2 separate regions of the Homo sapiens genome follow, and region 2 is linked to region 1. The links are contacts of gene promoters, found by promoter capture Hi-C in human tissues and cell types (Jung and others, 2019). All regions are on one chromosome and are shown on one strand. The core of a region is centred on a gene start or on the middle of the fragment in contact, and the rest is flanking DNA. Distances in the headings are between cores, read along the strand shown.

The links. Contacts are between HindIII fragments. The study calls those that stand out against the background at their distance.
Region 2: a contact is called between a fragment that was not itself captured here and the fragment with the promoter of ADIPOR2 in region 1, in 1 of the 25 tissues and cell types used here (adrenal gland).

Annotation. Positions count from the first base shown.
Region 1 is chr12:1,689,461-1,692,372 of GRCh38, reverse strand. It overlaps ADIPOR2 (adiponectin receptor 2), which reads right to left and starts at 1,303. Exons shown (of 8, transcript NM_024551.3): 1 at 1,182-1,303. RefSeq lists silencers at 1,001-1,090, 1,111-1,410 and enhancers at 909-1,487, 1,571-1,620, 1,641-1,800. The HindIII fragment of the contact is 10,259 bases long and covers 126-2,912 here.
Region 2 is chr12:1,101,699-1,104,956 of GRCh38, reverse strand. ERC1 (ELKS/RAB6-interacting/CAST family member 1) reads right to left here. Exons shown (of 19, transcript NM_178040.4): 4 at 133-207. Among named protein-coding and RNA genes, the nearest start is that of ERC1, 110 kb to the right of the region's middle. The HindIII fragment of the contact is 5,768 bases long and covers 1-3,258 here.

The DNA.
Region 1 (2,912 bases), core at 54-2,553:
ATTTATCAGAACGGATGAAAACATCTAGGAATTACCTAAGAGTCGTTTAAGGAGACATAAGGGTGGCCTTTGATAAGAGGTCACTTCAAACTTTCAGAACTGACAAGACGTATAGCCTCCCCCCAAAAAATAATGCTATGGGTAGATGGATGCTTTTTTCTGAAGGAATTTTTAGCATTTCATTTGGAAAAGTTCTGTGATCAAATAATGCTAAATGTTATGACAGCTTTCTTGGCGTTTAAAGGGATTCTCTGGGTGAGGGGAAGGGGTGATAAAAAAAAAAAAAGTCTGCTTTTGGAACAGAAATGGGGGACAATAACCAAGGCTCAGAAACCCAGAGTCAAAAAATTAAAAGAACATCTTATTTTAAAAAAAAAGTCAACAACCTGCAATGAAGTCACCGTACCCCCATAAAATCCCAACTGTGCATTTAAATCTTTCTACCAAAATTCACTTTTGGACCATCTTATGAAGTTGTCAAAATTTCAGAGGCAAACGCTTAAATCAAGATCAAAAGCCAGGAGGAAAAAAGAGCTAACAGTTTCCAACCCAAACTCTCTCCGAGCCCCCTAAAAACTGATTTATAACCCTGTCATCGGTAATTTTAGAAGAAGCGAACACTGACGGACGGGGGCTTGGGAAAACAGGACTCCAGGTACCAAGCAGGCTGCCTGACGCGCCACCTGAAAAAGGTGAGGGAACTCTTCCCCACCCCAGTCACTGTGAAAGTAGCGCTGAGAGAGCCCATCCCAAGCCTCCACCAAACAAATTCCTAGAAGTGATAAAAACAGACAAGAGACGAAGAGGGGCGGGCAGATCCTCTCCGCGGGCAGGGAGCTGGAGCAACTGCACCCGAAGGTGAGCAGAGGGCAGCAGGCTCCGACCCTCCGCCGCGAAAGGCGAGGCGAGGGGAACAGCGGGCGCCGGACTCCTCCGACAGCGGTCGCAAGGAGGGCGGCTCCAGGTCCCCACACGGCCGACCCTCAGGCCAAGGCGCGCCGGGCGGCAGGTCAGAGTTAGGAATCAAGTTGCGGGCCGGGCCGAGAGCGCGCTCTCCCGCCCGCGCCAGGGACATTCGCCCCTCAGCTCTCACCTCCCCCCGACCCCAAGCTCTCCCTCTGCGCCCAGGAAACGGCGCCCACACTCCAGAGACCCTCACCCGGAGCCCGTCGCCGCCTCACCGCGTGTCTCGGACTTCTTGGGAGCCACCGCTGAGGGGAGGGGGGAGGAGGGGGGAACGGAGGAGGGAGGGGGCCAAGCCCGGTGTAGCCGCCGCCGCTGCCGCCGCCGCGATGCCGCTTCTGGAATCGCGCTCTCGCCGCCGCGACAGCGACCGCCGCCGCCGCGTCTCCCCGCCCCCACGACCGCACGTCGCCGTGACGCGCATCGCACGAGGCGGTTCGAGCCAATAAGACCACACGCCGTGCGCAGCCGCGCTGTCCTAAACCGGAAGCCGCCCCTCTGACCGCTCTAAAACCTGGGTGCATCGTGGGAGCTGTGGTTCGGCCAGGAACTTAGCGAAAACTATACTGGGTGTTGAGGGCCGGAGGAGCGTGCGCTCCTTAGGCGCTCACACAACTCCTCGGAGTTTTTTCTCCCACCGAAAAAGGAAGCAATTTGGAGCTGAGGAGGAGGGGGCCGCCCCGGCTCGCGGATGCTTTTCGCAGTCTCTATGGATACTGGCTACACACTTTGGGCAAGAGCCAGAATTTGAGGATTTAGGCTGGATCGTGTGTCTCTGCCAAGGGCTGATAGGATGCTGAGCGTCGTCTGTGAAGACTGCGGAAAGAAATCCAAAAGCATTAGCCCAGTTTTGCCCAGAGCAATAGTGTTTGCCTTTTATTACCTTATTAAAGATTATGATTTATGCTCTACCACTTCTATTTTTTTTAAAACCCAGTCACTCTTAAAATACATATAATTCAGAGCGATTTTTAAAATGATGTTAATGTAATGGTATATCAGAACCTACTTAAGCACTAAATACCTGCGTCCATTTACCCAGAATGAGTAAGTAATTTTCCACAAGTCATCTTTACGTTGAGTTCTAACTTCTTAGAAGCCAAGAACAGATTTGGTTACGTACTTATTCTATAAGAAAAGTGAATATAAGAGTTAGTCTGCGTAGAAAAATAGTTCTTTACATTCAGTAGGAGGGGGAATTTATCACATTCTTAAGGCGTAAATGCCTTAACTATCAAAATTCTTGTTATTGACTAAAGGAAATCCATACGATTTAGGGAAAGTCTGTGCCCACGGCTTACTGTCCTTACCTTTGGACCACAGCAAGAGATAACAAAGGGTGCAGGGAAAAGCTGACAGGTCTTGAGGGAGCTGGAGTCGGATATATGACGAAAAAAACAAAAATACAGAAGTCTTCATTATGGAAATGTAAGTTTTAAAAAGTAAAGCTACTAAAATCACAAAGAACATGATTAAGATGGCAATAATACAGAACTAAGGCCCACTCATTTAAGCTTGAAAGAGATAAAACTAGTAGAAATTAAAATTAGGAAATAAATGTTAAAGGAACTAATTTCCTCCAAGGAGTGGTTTACATTGAAAATATAATTTTTTTAAGTTTACATAATTTGTGAAAGACATAATAATAATGACTTCTATGTTCCCAGGTAAAGATGTAAAGCTTTTGAGGTTGAAATCAAGGAAGACAATTGTACACCTCCTCAGCACATCAGAAACAATACAGGCATTTCTGGATTGTGAATTTGACCCGTTATACCAACTCACATAGAACAGAGATAAGAAGTATAAGATTCTTAGGCTTAATAAAGAGTCTACTAAAGGTGACAGAACTAGAGCGAAAAAGATAATTTTCTTAAAAAGAGATTCTTCAAAGATCTCCAATCTTTCCTGCATCCCTTTCTCTTAAAGACTGGTTTCCAGGCCAAGCG
Region 2 (3,258 bases), core at 151-2,650, 590 kb after region 1:
TGATTCTCACTCTTAATCTCCAAATAAGTGAAATACTATTACATGCCATTTCCTAACACTCACACATGGAAGTTTTTGATCACTTAAAAGTATAAGGTAATTCATAAGATTCTTTACTAGATTCTCACTTACCTTCATCTCAATAACAGTTTGCAGAGCTTTTGTTTTGGCAGAATCAGGAGCATTCTCAAACCTTCGATGCATCTCCTGTAGAAAAGAGGCAGAAAGAGATTCAGTGCTCTCCTGTTCACCCTCATTTTTTTCAAAGAGGAGTGAGAGCCGATGTATGCAAAAGATCACTACAGCCTTATGAGACAATGACCCCTTCTGTGTTACCAACCTTTCCCTGTGAATCAGGGAATCCACAGACTGCATTCAGGCTCACTCAACCATGCAGGCATAGGAGGATCCCTATCTCTGAACACCTAGTTATTTAAAATCAGTCACACAGACACGAGCTACCATAACAGCTGAAACTACGATTTCACATCCTCAGGTTGTGTGTCAATCTTCCACATAACTCCGGGAAATATAATCAGAATTCCAAATGATCCAAAATGGGGATTAGAAATGCTCCCTTTTAAAAGGAGAAATAAATACCATCACAATCAGTCTGCATTGCTGACTGCAGCTGTGGAAAGCAATCTGTGTTGACAACATCCTTTCCACGGCATCCACCCCCAGAATAACCACCACCTGGTTACCTACGATGAAGCTCGCTCTCTAGTGGTGCTACAGTTAGGAAGAAAAACATGACACTGTTGAACAAGTTTCCTAAGTAGTTCAGGTTCAGAAAATGTCAGAAAAACATAGCTTTTTTTTTTTTTTTTACCCAAATTTTACTGAGTTCAGGATAGAAAAGGAAGGAAGGGATATCAGAGCCTTCCAGGTTACCAAACCACTTCAGTGATTTTCTTGTCAGACTCTGTGAATGTCTCTAAATAAATCAGTCAGTACTTCCAAGTACCCTGGGGACAGGCTCTTGGGAATCCAGGGAATACAGAGATGAATGCTTTCTGCTGCCTCTCTCCCTACTTCCAGCTTTAACTATCCACCTAGTCATCTCACTTTCATGTCCAACAAACATTTCAAACTCTACATGCTCAAAACTCAACTCCTGACCAAGCGTGATGACTCATACCTGTAATCCCAGCACTTTGGGAGGCCAAGGCAGGAGGGTCACTTTGGCCCAGGGGTTCGAGACCAGCCTGGGCAACATGGCAAGATGTCATCTCTACTCCTGATGGTGCCCCCAAACCTGCTCCATCCTTCCTGTTACTCAGGCCACAAACCTATGAGTCTTCTTAATGCCTTCCTTTCGCTCTCAAGCCGCAGTCAGGAAATCCAGTTAGCTCTAGCTTCAAAACATACCCAAAATCCAAGCACTTCTTGCCATCTCCACGGCCACCACCTGGAATGAACCACTAAACAAAAATATACCTTTTAATCCATAACAACCTTCTAACTGAGCTCTGCTTTATCTTGCTCCACTACAGTGTTTTCTTAATGGAGCACTTCAAGTGACCCTTGTAAACATAAAGTTGTCCTTGTCAGTCCTCTGCTGAAAACCCTGTCATGGCTCCCCATTCGACTCCAACTAGAGCCCAAGTCCTCTCGGCAGCCTGCAAAGGCCTCATCTCATCGCTCTTCCCTGGGTCTCCATGCTTTAGCCACTATGGACTCCTTGCTGCTCCTCAAATATGCTAAGCATGCTCCTGATCCTTAAGCCCTTTGCACAAGCTGCTAGGGGAAGACTTCACTTCTTTCCAGTCTTGGCTCAAATGCCTCTTTTGTGTTAGTATTAGGTTTAGTTGTTGTGATAATGCCATTGTCGCTATGCAAGAAAATGTCCATATATTTTAGAGACGCATATTAAAGTCTGCAGAGGAAAATGACGTCATGCCAGGGATTGGCTTTAAAATCTTTGGTAAAGAAAAGAGGAAAAAGAAAAAAGAATACATGGAGGAAGTGTGGCAAAATTTTCGAAACTGGTGTATCTGAGTGATGAGCATGTGGAGATTCATCATGCAGTTCTTACTGCTTTTGTGTAGGCTTGAAATTTTTCATAACAAAATGAATGTTCAACGTTTTCAGTATAATCTACACCTTATTTTAAAATTTAACACAGCCAAAAAAGAACGCATGTGTCCTTCCCCTTTACTTCGCTCTACTTTTTCCTGTGTATAGCACTTACCCTCTAACATATTTTATGATTTATTATGTTTACTTATTATTCTCTACGAGAATGTACGCTCCACAAAAGCTAAGATCTTTGTTTCATTCATTCACTGATGGATCCAAAGCACCTACAACAGTAGCTGCCACACTGGTAAGCGCTTAATAGACATTTAAGGAATGAATACTGAATGAATGAAATGGCTACCAAACGTTCAAGAATTAGCTAGAAAGGAAATATTTTAGTCCCTTCCTACTCCTGTGCTGAATTTTGTACACCTCCTATTTCTCATACAGCATGCTACACAGCTTACATAGCTCCATGAGCACTTACCCCATTGTATTAGCAATAGTTTTTCTTCTCTAACATACCATACTGTGAACTCTTTTAGAAACTGTCTTCTGTATTCCTCAGGCACTGTCTGATATGTAAGCAGTCGTTAAAAATTACTTCTCCTCTCTATCTGTTCCTCTTTTGTTAGATGAAGGAATGAATGATGAATGAATGATCAGCCAGTTTCTATCCTCACCTCTCCACTGAACCATACGATCTAAAATAGCAAATAAAAAACCTCCTTGTTTCTAAACCTAATAGTTATTGTCAGTTCACCTCCTTTGCAAACTCTAGCTGGTACCAGAAAAAAAAAAATTTAAGTTAAAGAAGGAACGTCTTTAAAATTTTCAACCGGCTTCCATTAAAGAATTATCCTAGCTCTAAACTCCACCCTTTTCCTTTCCTACCTGCAGACATTTTCTAAATTCCTGTCCTTGGAACATCTGGATTCTATAGCCTGAATCCAAAGCCTTCACTAATCCACAGAGTAACTTTATGCGAATTAGAAAAAAAGCAACCCTTCTTGGGTAGATGCAACATCACCATGAAGCACAGGCTGAATTTTAGGGCCTACGGGCTCCATCAGCAGGAAGCTCTTGTTTGGTGAACAACCCGTACAAATAACCATCCAAAATAGCCCTTCCCTAATCCTATGGTTTCAACTATTACCTTTACACGTATACCCCACAAAATCTATTTATCTCGCACCGTGGCAGGCATTCATCACTCTTCCTCGCCGTGTGATATCT